Linked DNA regions of Homo sapiens: region 1 is linked to region 2. The links are contacts of gene promoters, found by promoter capture Hi-C in blood cells and fetal thymus (Javierre and others, 2016). All regions are on one chromosome and are shown on one strand. The core of a region is centred on a gene start or on the middle of the fragment in contact, and the rest is flanking DNA. Distances in the headings are between cores, read along the strand shown. Region 1 overlaps SGMS1 (sphingomyelin synthase 1). Region 2 holds the start of MAPK8 (mitogen-activated protein kinase 8).

What was found. Contacts are between HindIII fragments. The CHiCAGO score rates a contact against its expected background, and 5 or more counts as called.
Region 1: a fragment that was not itself captured here is called in contact with the fragment with the promoter of MAPK8 in region 2 in 1 of 17 cell types (total CD8 T cells); the score reaches 5.5 in total CD8 T cells.

What each region holds. Positions count from the first base shown.
Region 1 is chr10:50,610,350-50,614,521 of GRCh38, forward strand. The region is part of intron 1 of SGMS1 (sphingomyelin synthase 1); the gene reads right to left. Among named protein-coding and RNA genes, the nearest start is that of SGMS1, 12 kb to the right of the region's middle. The HindIII fragment of the contact is 1,703 bases long and covers 1,843-3,545 here.
Region 2 is chr10:48,304,550-48,308,277 of GRCh38, forward strand. It overlaps MAPK8 (mitogen-activated protein kinase 8), which reads left to right and starts at 2,128. Exons shown (of 12, transcript NM_001323329.2): 1 at 2,128-2,272. RefSeq lists a silencer at 1,759-2,708. The HindIII fragment of the contact is 3,503 bases long and covers 341-3,728 here.

The DNA.
Region 1 (4,172 bases), core at 1,444-3,943, 2.3 Mb after region 2:
CTTCCTGGTGAATTTAATGAGAGTTTTAGATGCACTGTCCCCCAAAATACACTTAAATACATGGTGGCTTCAGGAAACCCATCCAGGGACCCCCAATAAGAACCTGTGGGCCACACATAGGGCCTTGAAACGAATGAGCAAAATGAGGCTTGAGAAACTCCTGAGAGCGTTCTCACAATCCTGCCTGTTTCTAAAATCAAAGTGAGAGGGAAAGCCGGCCATGCTGAGGCCCCTATGGAAACCTGGAACACTGCCCAGCCAACTGCTTGGAACTTTGTAGAGCCTTTCAAAGTAACTTAGTTGTCACTACATGGACCACAGCAGTAAAGCAAATGTTAAATTACCAACCTTGTGAACAGGTGGCAGAGACATTCTGAGGCACAGGTGAGGTTTTGCCTCCTGACAACCCGACATGCTATATATTTGCTTATTTGATTATTGTCGGTCTGACCCTTACCAAGAAAACTCCATACGAGCTGAGACTTTGCTTTGTTCACACCTGTATCCTGGCCTCGTTCAACGTCAAAGCTGCCAGTCTCCACAATTCTGAAGGCTCAGGCTAGAGATGGAGGCCATCTACAAAGGCTTCCACAAAAAGCAATGGCATACAGGGGACATTCTGTGTACTTGGGTCTGGGGGTGTGTAGAGTGAACTAATAGCCAGGGGAATAATAGGGACAGGCTCTGGGATAAGATCAGGTAGAAACACAGAGGAAGGGACTATGCAGTCCACGTGGTGAAAATCTCGACAACACACGGCCAGAAAACTGGGTACAGATAGTGCCTGTGCAATAGCCCATCTCACTTATGGTCCATCTAGTCAAATGAATGGTCAACACGCCACCCAGGAGAGGAAAGGGAATCAACACGCACTCTCTCTTACAGGAAATCTCAGGGTCACCCTCTGCTGCCACATCCCAAGGCCACCTCAACAACTGCAGAATGCAACCCTGTACTACTGTGGACACACGCCAAGGGTCTTCACACCACGACACTTGTGACAGAGTGGTTATTATCCCCATTTCACATGAGAAAGCCACTGCCCCAAAAGGATTTAAACCCAAGCCCACTGTTCTTCATCACTCCTCAGCTGGCTTTCAAAATCAGGGCCCCTGGGTCCTTGCCTTCCCAGTTCCTGTTATCTAGAAGACCCTGGGTGTCCTGACATCTTACAAATGGCTCAGAAATTGCATTACTACCTCACCAGTGTGCTTGGACAGCCAGCAGCATCTTTCCTCACTGCCCTCACCTACTCTGCCTCTGTCTCAGATGACCAGGACAGCCTGACTTGGGCTGAAGGCCGTGGGTCCTCTATACAGACTGTTTCTTTCACAATCCTCTTCTGGTCCCATGGCCTTTTCTCCAGCATCCCAAGCATCTCTGCTCTCCAGTCATCCTCCACCTGCCTGTGCACCTTCATCCCTGCCGCTGCCCCCTGCCTTTCCTCCACCCTTCCCTCTCCCCTCCTGGTTTCCTCAGGAGTAAAACATTCCTCTTCTCTGTTGGCCTCAGACACACTGGCACCCCCCATCCCCTTTTCCAACTCCTGCCTAAACTGTCAGCCTGTGTCTGTTAGGGGGAAAGAAGCTGTGGGCAAAGCCTGCCTTCCCACCCTATCTCCCTCCCAGTCCTGATTTCTCCTGCCTCTGCTGCTTTCACCCAGCCCCCTGCCAGTGGGGTGGGTACCACTTCAGCTAGCCCTCCCCACCACTTCCTTAGGAGATAGTTTTCTTGAGGTTTGTTCTCTACCATCCTGCCCCAGGGCTTTTTTCTTCAATCCCTCCATCTCCATCTGTGACTATTGGGAACTCCCTTCCAAATTTAAGCATCTTCCACCTGCCAAGCTTAGCTGAGGATCCTCCACCCCTTAACCTGAGATTTGTTATAACATCCCGTCTTCATGGATTCACATAGAATACCTGCATGAAACTTTTAGAAGACTGAACATCCACATTTTGCTCCCTTAATGGAGACAGCCTGCCAGAAGGAATATCCATTACAACCTGGGAAATGCAAACAGCTTATTGCTATTTCTATAAAGTGGTCTGGACATGAAATTAAATAGGACTGGGGAAGGTAGTGCTGAAATCAGCTTCTTTTGTTAATGAATAATAAGCAGCTGGCGAAAAGGAGGAGTGGAGGGGAGAAAAAAGAAAACAAGGAACTGGAACCACTGAAAACACAAATGAAAGGGGAATTTCACACTTAGCCAAAAATTCAGGGAAAATAAAATAAAACTTTGTTTTTAATAGAGTCTTTCTTTTAAAAGTTGATTTATCTTAAAGATAGAAAGTCGTTAATCTTCTCCAGGTTTTACATTCCTAGCAGACAGCTAACATTTAGCCACTTTGTTGTTTGTTGTTGTTGTTGTTGTTCTGAGACAGAGCCTCGCTCTGTCGCCCAGGCTGGAGTGCAGTGGCGTGATCGCGGCTCACTGCAGCCTCTGCTTCGTGGATTCAAGCAATTCTCCTGCCTCGGGCTCCTGAGTAGCTAGGATTACAGGCGTGCGCCTCCATGCCAGGCTAATTCTTGTATTTTTAGTAGAGATGGGGTTTCACCATGCTGGCCAGGCTGATCTCGAATTCCTGACCTCATAGCCACGTTTTTTAAAAACAAAGAAAGTAAACTCTTAAGTACTCTTGTAACTCCCCAAGTAGTTTTGAAGTGCAGTCCCAGCTCTGATTCTCCCTTTGGGGGCTGACCACTTATAGCACACATCTTCCTAGGCTTGTCTCTGCTGTCAGGATTATGTCACTAAAAATGAAAACCTCATGTGGCTTTCAACCCTAAAACAAAAGAAAATAAAAACCAAAAAAATGCCACTTCTGGCTCCATCTACACTGACCTATGGTATGGATTCCCTTCTGTGCACTCTGCTGACACAGGGAAACTGGGCAGGTGACCTCTGTCCAGTCATCCCACCCCTGACCCAGGGAGGCTAGGTGTGCAGCTTTGATACTGTACTCACTACTTGGTGATGACATCATCTGTGGACATGTCTGTCTCCCCACTAATCCCTCAAAGACCCAGACCCCATCGCACTCATCTCTGTATCTCAAAGCTCACCAGGGAAACTGGCCCATAGGGGATTTTCAACACATATTTACTGCCACTGTCAACCCTGAGTTATAAAATGACCAGACTGGAGAGTGTCTCCACACCTGAACAGGCCTCTCTAGCCTCTTCAGTCGGCCCCTGGCAATCCCCCCATCCTCTCTGCCCTGCCACATTCCCTCACCAAGCAAACGAGCTGTTACAGGCTGACAGGGTCACAGGAGAGTCCTGATAACTAGCACAGAGAAAAATCTAAACCAGTGTTCCTTCCCAAATACAACTTACTTGTATTGTTCACCTCCGAGTTCTTTCTAAATCCTGAGTTCCTACAAAATATTTAAATTATAAAAGGTTTTCGTCCCGAGGTTTTATATATGTAACATTCTTTCAAATAGGAAAAAGTGTAGCCTGGATTGCAAGACAGAAAACTTCTGCTATAATAATAACTATTCATACTTCTTGAGAGCTTAATGTGTGTAGGTGCTGTACTAAGCTTGGTACACATTGTAGCTATGTGACCTCGTGGCAGCTGGAGGAAAGCTGTACAAAGCTCTTTTTTCCTACAAACACAGTTTTCTGCTATAATTAAACTAGGCAAATAAGATTATCTTCTGCCTCTCCACTGTCAGGTTATGTATCTCAATATACTTTTAATTTGTCTGTGCCTAAATTCCTCCATGGGGATAAGTGGTGAACAGGAAGTCTTTCTTTTTTTTTTTTTGCCAATGGAAGGGGGAATGAAAAATAACAAAAATAAATGAGGCCATCTTCCTAAGATGGGATGTAATGATGGCACTCCAAGCTTCTAATGAGTGCTGACTTATATTTCCAAGTTTTCTCTCCACCTTGGGATCATCTCTCCTGAGCCATGCCAGAACCACTGGTGAGCAGGAAAAGCAAGTTTCTGCTCTGGACTGGCTCAGACACCCCTCTGCTGTCCTAGATAAACAGGACCACATGAGTTCAGTTTTTATTTCATGAGGCGGAAGGCACTTCCAATGTCTAAATCTGAAATCATCCCACCTGACTGTAACTAGAAGTAGTAGCAGCTGGCTCCTCGCTGACATGGGCACTGCTGATGGCAGTGGTTGGCAAAGAGTGGTCCCCAGACCAGCAGC
Region 2 (3,728 bases), core at 878-3,377:
TCTTAACTAGCTGAACCTCAGCTCTGTATATCCAACCACCAACTTAACATCAGTTTTGGGCATCTCAAAAGCCTTCAAACAGCCAAACAGCCTGCTCTCATGATATTTTAATGCCAGTCTGGTCCTTTTCCAAGATTCCCATCTTGGTAAACCAGCACTAACATCCATCCTTGGCCACAAGCCAGAAACCTTTGAGTTTTCCTTGATGACTCCCTCTCCTTCATTGCCCCACATAACCCATCACTTGGAGAATGTGCAAGTTCTGCCCGTTGGACCTCCTAAATAATTCACAGATCTTTCCATGTCCATCAACTATTTCCATGACCATCACCCTAGATCAAGCTTCCACCTCTTACCGTCTAGGCTACTCCTACATCCACCTGGGCTCTTTCCAATAAGGAATCTTTTCAAGAAGCTATTCTGACCATGCCACACCCTTTGCTGAATATGTCAGGGGCTTCCCATTGCACTTAGGATAAAAAGATTTTCAACATGGCCAATATGGATGTCCTACGTTTGGTCCCTTTACCAATCTTCCTGACTTCATCTCATAGCTCCTTCTTCCTTGCTCCTCCAGCAGAGCTGGCCTTTCCTGAATTTCTCCATCTTATCCTGCTTAATCTCATCAGAGGACCTTTGCGTGCAAAGCTACCTCTAAAATATTCTCTGTCTAGTCAAACCTATTCCCAGCTCAAGTGACAGTTCCTCAGGGAAATCTTTTCTGGCCTTATTAACTAGTGTATTAATTGGTTTCATAGTATTATGTATCCTTAACAATTTGTATTATAAAACAGTGATAATTTTGCGTTTACTATTATTACTTTCATAGTACAGTGATTAAATCTGTAAACTCTACTGTATTGCCTGGCACTGAATGGGCATGCAATAAATAATTATTGCAGGAACAAAGGATGGCAGGAAGGAAATTAAGAAGGTTGAGAGGGAGGGAGAGAGGAAATGGGAAGAGAATGAATGAATAATCATCTGTATGTTCCCTTTCAGAATCACCAGAAACAGGCCAGCCCCACATGTAATAGGAAAGTAGTTTACCTGAAATCATTCATTTATTCAACAAATATTTATATATTCATTATTAAAGTAACTTACTTGTTTCTGATTGTGAACATAACTATTCCTCTCGGAAAACATGAGAAAATACCCAAAGTATAAACGAGAACCAAGTCACCCTTTATTCCATAGTCCAATGATGAACCATTGTTAACATAATTTGGTGTATTTCTTTCCAGGTTTTTTCTATGTGTATATATAGTATCTAAGTGGGACCATTCTATATATGACTTGTTTCTTGCTTCTTTCTCTTAATGATACATTGTGAACATGTTCCTATGTTGTTAAGAATTCCTTGAACACATGGCATTTAAATTGCTAAAATGTATTCTACCGAATGGTGTAGGTAGTTCAAACGCCTTTCCACCCGTTGTTGGATATTTAAAGGACTTGTCAATTTATCGCTTCTGTAACATTTACACGCTTTGTGGGGCCTCAGAAGTAAACCAGGTAATGCAAGGAATCTGGGAAGAGGTGGATTTGCAAGGAATCTCGGAGGAGGTGGATTTTGGAAAAACTGGAGGCAGCTTTTCCCGGGCAGCTGAAGAGAACACTTATCTCTCTGTAGGTTTCTGGGACCCGGACAGGTGTCCTCAGAATGGAACATATTGTCGGTCAAGGTAACCAGCTCTTCATCACTCAGGTGTGTGTACCGGAAGGGGGTGCCTGTTCGCTGCGCAGGTTAGGCCTAAGCGCACCTGCCCTTCAACCCTGTGCCGACGAGGCCCGAAGGCTTAAGCTCTGACCTGGCTACCGCCGCCAACCAGATGCGGTCCCCTGGGGCCACGCGCCGCCACGTGCCGCCACAGGGCCCGCCCCTCCCGCTCCAGGCCACGCCCCTCACCCACAGCCCTCGGAGGCTCTCTCCGCGGCTCCGCCTCCAAGCGACCTCCGCAAGTCCTCTCGTAACCCCTGGAGTAGCGCCGTCCCCGGGCGGCGGCCCCGCCCCCGCAATCCGGGCCCCGGGGCTGCCCCGCCCCGCCGGCCGCTCGGGAGGCGCGGGGGCGGGGCCCTGCGCGATGACGTGCGCGGGCGTGCGCGGTGACGGCCCGCGTCTCTGTTACTCAGCCGAGCGGCCGAGGCCGGACGACGCGGCTTGGATTGCGGAGCCGCGAGCAGCGCTGGGTAACGGCCGCGGCGACCACCCCGGACGGCCCCTGTCCCCGCTGGCGGGCTTCCCTGTCGCCGTTCGCTGCGCTGCCGGGTGAGTGCGGCGGACGCCGCAGGGCCGGGACGGCAGGCGGCCCCGTCGTGTTTATGTTATTGTGCCGCTGCCGCCGCCGCCGCCTTCTCCTCAGCCGTAACCCCCTCCTGGGAGTGGGGGCGGGAGCGCGCGGTGGGCGGGGGCGGCGCGGGAACAATAGCGGCGCGGAGGCGGGGGCCAGCCGAGGGGGCGTGGGGCTGCGGGACCTGGGTGCGCTCCGCTGCCCGCCAGCCCGCCTGCCGCCGCGAGCCCCGCCCGCCTGTCCTCTCGCGTCCTCTTCGCGTGGGTCCTGCCTCCGCGGCGGGAGAAGAAAATGGAGCGGGGGGGTGGGTGGCAAGTTCTGAAACACTTCGGCAAGGGTCGGACGGAGGTGTCTTTGCGGCCCGCCGCGCCCTGGCTGCCTCCGGGGCGGCGGGGAGCCGGGGAGAGCGCTTCTGCCGGCAGGTCCCCAAGCCTGCCCCGCGCCCATAGGGACCGTATTTTGCTTCTCGATGCTTTCTTTGTGCTAACGTTCTGGGCGAACGCAGGCAGCAGCGCTGAAAAGGGCCAGAGTGGCCTGCAGCTCTGGGCTGCAGGGCAGAGAGCCCAGGCCCGTGGCTCGGGTGGGAGGTGTCCATCCAGCTTGGCCCGAGCTTCGGTGGTCAGCGCGCATTTCTCTTGAGGGTCATCGGTGGTGACCTTTTGACTTTTTCACCCCACCCTCCCATCTCTTTGTCTCGCATTTGTGTTCCCGATTCAGAGATGGTAGAACCAAGTCCATTTTAAAGTACCCTGATGAACACTTTCCGTTTTTATTTCTGAAAGTTCCCTGCTTGGTCTTTACTGCGAATTTAATAACATGTTGACTACATGGCATTGTCCAGTGATTACTATTTTTACCTCTGAAATCCAGCGATCTTTCCAGTAGAATTCTGGTCCGTCAGTCCATTGTGTTTTGAGATAAGCATCCAGCAAGTACCTCCTTGGCAATTAGAACATCTGTTTTTTCATTCATTCATTCATTCAGCAGCTGTTTAGTACCGTACTCAGATGAAGAGGTTTGGTGTGAAGGTAAAGTATCCTTTCATGGAAGAGGATGCTTTGACTGAAGTATAATAGATGGACCTTTAAATGAGACAGTTACATAAGTGATGTCTGTTAAGGAAGGTATGGTTATATTCTGGGTCATTTTTTAAGCAGTATATCTGGAAGTTCAAGTGTAATAGGAAGTAGAATTAGATTTGGTCTAAATATACAACAGCTTTTATTTATTTCTAAATTTTATTTTTTCCAGTCTTGCAGCCTTACAGTCATTTGTAATGGTTACCTCAGATTCCCCTGCTGTGGTTAACGTTAAACCTAGGAGGTCAGATGCTCTAAGTGAACATGTTTAGTGCTGTGCCTGACAAAAGCAAGCAATCAAAATGGGACTTCCTTGAGGGCAGGCCTGTCTTGCATCTGTTTCTCCACCACCTAG